Linked DNA regions of Homo sapiens: region 1 is linked to region 2. Evidence: promoter capture Hi-C in 16 types of primary human blood cells and fetal thymus (Javierre and others, 2016). All regions are on one chromosome and are shown on one strand. Each heading gives the region's core, a stretch centred on a gene start or on the middle of the fragment in contact. The rest is flanking DNA. Distances are from core to core; before and after follow the strand shown. Region 1 overlaps HNRNPU (heterogeneous nuclear ribonucleoprotein U). Region 2 holds the start of TFB2M (transcription factor B2, mitochondrial).

Region 1 (3,879 bases), core at 83-2,582, 1.7 Mb before region 2:
TCCATTCTTAGCATACGAGAGTTCTACTTCATCACTTTCAAAGTTCTGTTACACAGAAAAAAATTCAACAGTTAAAATCTGCTTCCTTAAACTTTCTAAAAAACTAAGAATTAAAATTAGGAGCAAAGCTTATCCTGTGGAAGCTACAGGTTAAAGAACTATTAGGTGGCCTTTAAGGGCTACACAGTTAAGAAATCTGATGGTTGTAAACCATGAAGCACGTATCTCCAGAACCAGAAACAATACTGACCTAGAAGCTAGACTGAATTTTCTAGGTCAATTTCATGTTCACTGTTTTCAGTCAAAATGAATTAGTGAGTTCCTCAAAAATGTCCTGTGTTTTCCCAATTCAACTGCTGAATGAAGTCTTTACACTAATCCAGGGACTGGTGTATTTTGTTGCTCATATTGAAAACTGACCTCAGTAAAGCTTCTTTAAAGTTCCTAGATATAGCTACTAACTTTGCCATTTATACATAGAAAGTTAGCTTTAACTTACAGCAAAACATGTAATCACATCATTTTCATCAAACTTTTCTCCATAATCTTCAGTCTCACAGTTGCATGTTTTTATTCCTTTTAGAGAATACCCATAAGAAAATTCTTCTTCACCTAAGAAAATAATTAATCTTCATGAAGTAGATGTTTAAAATAGTCCAAAGACTCATCTATTTTACTACTTAAGATGTAGGCTACAAGAGAAATAAGCATATAACCTAATCACCTGTCACTGACACTATTACTTTTCTATCTCTGTACCAGAATTGATGGAAGTTAGGAGGGATATATACGCAGAGACCAAATTAGTTGACGATTTGCATATCACGGGTAAGATTTTATTTCAACCATTGGTCATAAACTTCTAATAAAGGAACAAAAACTAAAATGTAGCCTGTGCCTACTATGTGCTAATATTACCTGTCTGAAGTATTAACAGAATAGATAAAAACAGACAAAAGGCTTAGAATGCCCTCTAGTTAAAAAACACTGAAATCAGACCCTCCTGAACATTCATGAGCCCACATCAGTCAAAAAGAAGCTTTACCAAGTAACATTCCACTTGTAGTTAGTGACCAGCCAATACGAACTTCATGTATGTCAATATCTTTTGTATATAAATGCCTTACTGGGATCTTCTCTGTAACCTGAAAGTCAAATCATTAAATAATTAAAATAATACACCAAGGAGGTAACCCCTTAACTCTCGCATATTTCATTGCGCCACGGGCTAATCTTCCTCTAGCTATAAATACAAAGAAGGCACACTCTAGCCCACCCCCAATATTTGTAAGAACTTTAAACTGATGTGCTTATAACTTGAAATTTAAAGAGTTAAATACTTATTTGACCCATATTTAAAAGAATACTTAATATTTTTAAAGTTCATGTTGTCAGTCTTTAACTTAAAGCCAATTAAAGGATACAATTAATGTTTTTCTCACCAACAAAAGCAGTAATGTAACCAAATTTTATTTTTAACTCTTTGGTGGCCCTTTCAAATGCTTGATAAAAATGAAGTACCCTAAATAAAAAATCGCCTAGCTCTGCATGGCAAGTTCTAACATAACAACCGTGATTAACTGTCACAACAAAATGAAGGTTCCAAGCTCCTCTTTTAATTTACAGGAAGCTTCAAAAATAAGTACCTTTGATAACTTAGCAGTATGAAGCACCTGTAATTCCAGCATTCTGAGAGGCTCAGGCGGGCAGATCACTTGAGCTTAGGAGTTCAAGACCAGCCTGGGCAACATGGTGAGACCTTGTCACTATTTTAAAAAGGAAAAAAAAAGGCTGGGCACAGTGGCTCATGCCTGTAATCCCAGCACTTTGGGACGCCGAGACAGTGGATCACCTGAGGTCAAGAGTTGGCGACCAGCCTGGCCTACGTGGTGAAACCCCATCTCTATTAAAAATACAAAAATTAGCCAGGTGTGGTAGTGTGTGCCTCTAGTCCGAGCTACTTGAGAGACTGAAGCAAGGAGAATCGCTTGAACCCAGGACGCGGAGGTTGCAGTGAGCCTAGGTCGCACCACGGCAATCCAGCCTAGGGAACAGAGTGAGACTGTCTCCACAAACAAACAAACAAATCATAAAATTGCATTTACCTTCATCTCAAAACACACTTTGCCTTTTGACACACCATAGGATGCTCTTCCTCCAGCCCAAAGAAAAGCAAAACTCTCCATTGTAAGGGAAGAAGCACTGAGACGATCTCTTGATATTTTAAAATGTAGATCACAATTATCTGTAATTATATCAAATACTGTGTTACTTTTGACATCCAATGTAAACATATCTGCTATGTAGACAAAACTTGGTTACTTAATTTTTGCATGTACTTCTTAATGCTGCACAACTTTTCTCCACATCATGCTGTTGTTCCAATTTTCAGTTTAAAGCCCCACTCCCACCAAGTCACTCCTGTTAAATTATGTACTGAAAAGTAAACTGCCTGTGAAACTAATACCAAGGTTTAACATGTATATTTTAAGTATTTAAAATAATCAAGACAATGTGACATTAATACATACCTGCTCTGCTCTTTACCTTGATTTAGAGGCAAGCAGTAGAGGATAGCAGGAAATCAAAGTGAAGCATGCCAGAACCAGGTAGATTTACCAGTGCCACATTAAAACTGAAGGGAGGCCACGACCAAATTATTTTAAAATAGGAGTATGAGCTGCTGTTGATCCTGCACCAGGGCTCTAGCTCCTAAATTCTTTTTCTAAAACTTGTGAAGAAGACAGCCTAAAACTATGAAGTACAAACCTGGCCGTCTAATGCTGTTAATAGTGCAGCATTTTAGGTCCTCTTTACCCAGGACTGCCTGTTCAACAATTAGGGATTAATTGCTTCCCGGATTATCCAAATCCAAAGTGTCTTTAACCCAGCTACCTATGGGTCACTGGCTCATTAACATGCACTTCCTCAGACTTCTCACTTGAACAGCTAAAGTCAAGCTGGAACTCATTTTCTTTTTACTGATCAGAGAAAAATAAATCTACAGTTTGGAATTTTTCTTAAATTAGAGTTATTCTAATCAACAGAATTTAATTCAACAGATTGTTTGAATTCAACATTGTACTTATATTGACATATTCCTGATTTGCTAAAAAATCTAACAATTACATTACCTGTGTGAGTCACCACTTCACTACCTTGCCAATTCCTAGCAACTTATTTATACAACCCAGAATTTCACTAAAACTTTCACATCAACTAACTCCTTTTTCACCTGCAGTTTTTTCTTTTAAAAAGGCTCAGATGACTATCTCAACCTTCTGTAAAGGATATTCCAGTAAGAAAGAGTTTTACATTGACACTCTTACAAATCTGAATAAAGCCAATTTGTACAAGAAAACATGAGAAGCTAAGCTCCAATGCCTTCCATCTAACACAGCAGGCTGACACCATAGCTGATACTTTTGAAACAGTTATTTTTATCCTTTGGTCTATTTATCACACCCAGAGTTGTACATTCTCATCACTAAACCAACTACGTTTTTTTGTAACAAAAAAAAAAAAAAAAAAAACAAGTCTGACAGTCAAAGCCCACTTAGAGGTTTGCAATACTTTCTCACTCAATTGCAACCCAACTGGGTAAAGTAGCAGTATTTACAGTGCTGCACTGCCATTGATACCATTCGCTGCTGAAGAAAGCTAGTGGCCCAGTGATAGCCCACTGCTGCTGCCTCAGGTCTTTGGAAGAAATCAACTTATGTTTAAAGCAGCAGCTACTGAACTGGAATTGAGAACAAAAGAGCAGTTATTGAAAAAGTAATATTACAATCTTTTAAAATAGGGAATATACTTGTGTGCTAATGGGAGAAGTCATTAGTAAATATTTAACTAGCCCAAATAGCTCACTTAATATAATTC
Region 2 (4,171 bases), core at 299-2,798:
TCTGTCACCCAGGCTGGAGTGCAGTGGGGCAATCTCGGCTCACTGCAACCTCTGCCTCTTGGGTTCAAGCGATTCTCCTGCCTCAGCCTCCCGAGTAGCTGGGATTACAGGCGCCCGCCACCACGCCCGGCTAATTTTTGTATTTTAAGCAGAGACGGAGTTTCACCATGTTGGCCAGGCTGGTCTGGAACTCCTGACCTCAAGGGAACCACTCGCCTCGGCCTCTGAAAGTGCTGGATTACAGGCGTGAGCCACCGCACCAGGTCAAAACTTGCACTCTTCATCACCATGATTCACTACCTCTTAGAAGAAAAAAGTCACAGCAAAATAGATTGCCTCTAGCCTATCACTTCCTCACGGACTACACGGATGCTTTAACCATCAAAGAGATTGTCAAGCCTAAACAGAACTGACTCCCTGTGATATGAAATGGTGCTTTAAAAAACTATCATTCAAAAAGCCTATAAATCTTGTGTTCTTAGCATCCTGCTATGGTCTATAGGGAATGCACGGAAGAATAAGATAACATCATTTTTTCAGCTGGCAGAGGCTTGCAACTCTTTTGGGGAGATAAGATCTAAGAGCATGTTTTATCAAAATATTGTGTAAAGTGCAAGCTGCTACAGAAATACTTTGTGGTGTCATTAACGATACAGACTCTACGCTTATGTAGTGGGCAATCTCTCCAACTAAGGAGCTTCAAACAAAGACCCGTATCTGGACGGGCGCAGTGGCTCACGCCTCTAATCCCAGCATTTTGGGAGACCTAGGGGGGAGGATCACGAGGTCAAGAGATCGAGACCATCCTGGCCAACACGGCGAAATCCCGTCTCTAGTAAAAATAAGAAAATTAGCTGGGCGTGGTGGCGCGCGCCTGTAGTTCTTGCTACTCGGGAGGCTGAGGCAGGAGAATCGCCTGAACCCGGTACGCGGAGGTTGCAGGGAGCCGAGATCGCCCCACTGCACTCCAGCCTGGCAACACAGCGAGACTCCGTCTCAAAGCAAAAGAACAACAAAAAAGACCCCCCAGTATCTAAAATAGCACCCCGAGGAGGGTCAATACGTTTGAATAAATGATGAACATCCAAGAAAATGCAATTCAGCTGGACTCACCTGGATTGCACTCCAGCAGTAGGTGTGGAGGTCTACTTGGTTTTCCCAAATAGATTTGCGCCAGGGTCTCAGCCAATCTCCGATCGGTTACGTAACGCTTAAAGTCTAAGCTGGCCTTAGACGCCTTCCTTGGCGGATTCCTGAAATCCGGTTCGGGCCACAGCTGCGGAGAGGAGTCAGAGAGCCCACAGTGGTTCCTCGCCGGCAAATGCTTTCGCGTCGCCGCTTCAGACCCTAAAATGCAAAAGCGACCAGCGCCCGCCAAGGCGGAGAGCCTCAGCCGCCGAGGAAGCCCGACCACTGGGATCCACATGTCCTTGTCTCTCAGGCCCGCTCCAAGAATCACCTAGTGCAGCTACTACAGTGAACCCCACGCAGGGTATCCCACGTGGAACATTTTCTGGCGTCCGGGCCAGGTCAAGCGGAAGTAAACACTAGAGCCTGCGCATGCGAACAGCGGAGCCTTCCTGCTTTTCTCCCTCACTTCCGCTTCCGCCTCGGCTCAGCCGCCCGAGGATTGTGAGTGGACCGTTGAGGAGAGCGACCGACCATCCGGCTGGTGTCCGGACTCGTACTCTATGGTTGTCCGCGCTCTGCGCTTCCTCTCTAGCCGCCAGTGCTCTATGCTCCGCGGTCGCGGGCCGCCAGCCTCCAGCCGGCCAGCCGCGAGGGGTGCGCAGAGGGAGGCGGGGCGGAAAGGCGAGAGGTGTCTCCTCCACCGGAGCCAGGGGAGACCCGAGCAAGCTCCGTGACAGCACGTCGGCCGCCATGTCGCCGAGTGGGGCTGGAAACAGACCCGGCGCCCAGCGGTAGCCCTCCTTGCGCCTCCGATTCCCAGGTGAGGAGAGGAGGAGCGGGATGCAGGGGACCCGCCGGCTCGCGGCCGGGATGGAAAGCCTTTCGGAAGCCTCTCGCTCCTCCCCCTGCGCTGTCCTCCTCCAGCCGCGCAGCCTCTGCCCTCCGGGTGAGGTGTAGCCCGGTCCCCTTACCTCCTCCGCCTCTCAGGTCGCCTGTTTTCCTCTCCTTTCTCAGCTACTGTGGGTCTCCTATTGCTGCGCGTCGCGCCAATTTCTCCCTCCCTAGGGGACTAGCGCCAGAAGTCGTTCCTCACCCGGCTCCTGGAGGAGCCTGCGGCTTCCACGGTCTCCGTTCCTTTCTGTTGTGTGGCCCACAGCCCGCTCTCCCCACCCTCGTGGATGGTTTTCATTTCCCCCCCACACCTGGTCCCCCCCATCACTACCACTTTGGTTGTCAAGAACCGCGTGGTGTCTCCCTTCCATTCCTCTCTCTGGGCCAATATTTTCCTTAATTTTTTCAGTTTGTGTGTTTAAAAGACTTAAAGTTAAGATTAAAAATGAAGATGTAAAAGCTTACAATTCCTTTCTAAGCTTAAAAAGATTAAGACTTTAGGATGCTTACTGTATTCCTTATGTAAACTTAGTCAAACACATCGTACTGTGGAATGCGATTTAAAAGACCCAATTTTGAAGACTAAAAATAGGATGCTGTAATGGAAATTTTGGCAGTCTTTTTTTTTTTACCTATTGGGCAATGTTAGAAGACACGGTTCTTTGAGAGTGTTTTCCGTGTTTCAGGATCAAACTTAGAGCTTTTACCCATTATCCTTACCACCAAGGCAAGAAACGGCAGCCAATCAACTCCGTGTCTTAGAATACGTACAATCCTTTCTGCTTACTCTACTGAGAGTGTAATTGAGTTTGGCATTTAAATGCACGAGGAAAAGGTTCCTAAGGAATGTATCACCCAGCAAATAGTCTGAAGATTATACTCATCTGATGAAGCTCAAGCGGATAAAGAATTGACAACTAAATATGACCTTTTGTGTATTATAAATTTGTTAGGACATCATAGAAAATATCTCATCAACTGTTGTGCAAACTGTGGGGACTCACTCATTGGTCTTAATTTGCTTAAATTCTTTTTTCGTACAGTTTTCTCACTGACAATTTTCTAGAGGTGACTTTGCATCCTCTGAACCTCTCTCCATTACTGAGCTGCCTCCCCCTCTCCCCTTAAAAAACATTTTCATAGATTCAGAAATACACTTTTTTCCCCCTCCAGGACCTGGAGTCCTAAATATTTTTAAATCAGATAAAATAGAATTATGTCTTCATGGTTCACTCATAGAAATGTGTCGTTGAATTTCTGACTTTTTAAAAAAAACACTGTGGTGGCTGGGTATGGTAGTTCATGCCTGTAATCCCAGCACTTTGGGAGGCCAAGGTGGGAGGATCACTTGCTGCCGGGAGTTCGAAGCCAGACTGGGCAACATAGACTCTGTCTCCTTAAAAAAAAAGAAAGAAAGAAAAAGAGAAAAAGAAAAATAAACACATTGTGGTTAAAAACAAAACAGTTATTTTAAAATGCACTGTCTTATTTCATAATGTTTGTGGACCAAAGTTAGCCTACTGAGTCCTAGAAAAACTGATGTCATTTTTTATTTTGCTTTTGAGTGTTATTATTTTCTCTTGGTTTTGGGAAAGAGAATTACATTATAATATTCCCTTTTTACAGTGTTGATGGTTCACTTGTTTGTAATTGAAGGTACTTGAATAATAAGAGATTTTTGTACATCTTATTTTTTTTCTGAGGTCCCAGGTGCTGAGAATGTTGATTTCACCTTAAAGATGAACTTTATGATCAGGATTTAGACATACTTTATTAGAAAAACTTGATTAGTGTGCAGTATTTCCCATCTTTTTTCTTAAGAAGTGTGGTTTTCTATCCTATGCTGTTTTTGCCTTTTTGAAGTAATTTTGAGATGGAGTCTACTCTGTCGCCTAGGCTGGTGCCATCTCGGTTCACTGCAACCTCCGCTTTTCGGGTTCAAGCAGTTTCTCCTGCTTCAGCCTCCCGAGTAGCTGGGATTACAGGCTCCTGCTACTATGTCCAGCTAATTTTTGTATTTTTAGTAGAGACGGAGTTTCGCCATGTTGGCCAGGGTGGTCTTGACCTCAGGTGATCCTCCGACCTCCACCTCTCAAAGTGCTGGGATTACAGGCGTGAGCCACCACGCCTTTAAAATACTTTTTTTCTT

Evidence for each region. The method cuts DNA at HindIII sites, captures the fragments that hold promoters and counts their contacts. A CHiCAGO score of 5 or more calls a contact.
Region 1: a contact is called between a fragment that was not itself captured here and the fragment with the promoter of TFB2M in region 2, in 1 of 17 cell types (fetal thymus). The highest score is 5.5, in fetal thymus.

Annotation. Positions count from the first base shown.
Region 1 is chr1:244,858,230-244,862,108 of GRCh38, forward strand. HNRNPU (heterogeneous nuclear ribonucleoprotein U) reads right to left here. Exons shown (of 14, transcript NM_031844.3): 4 at 2,106-2,245; 5 at 1,046-1,145; 6 at 500-612; 7 at 1-45. Among named protein-coding and RNA genes, the nearest start is that of HNRNPU, 4.4 kb to the right of the region's middle. The HindIII fragment of the contact is 591 bases long and covers 1,038-1,628 here.
Region 2 is chr1:246,564,713-246,568,883 of GRCh38, forward strand. It overlaps TFB2M (transcription factor B2, mitochondrial), which reads right to left and starts at 1,549. Exons shown (of 8, transcript NM_022366.3): 1 at 1,114-1,549. The coding sequence starts at 1,426. CNST (consortin, connexin sorting protein) reads left to right here and starts at 1,744. Exons shown (of 11, transcript NM_152609.3): 1 at 1,744-1,951. RefSeq lists enhancers at 1,239-1,518, 1,749-1,808, 1,849-2,348. The HindIII fragment of the contact is 6,532 bases long and covers 1-2,480 here.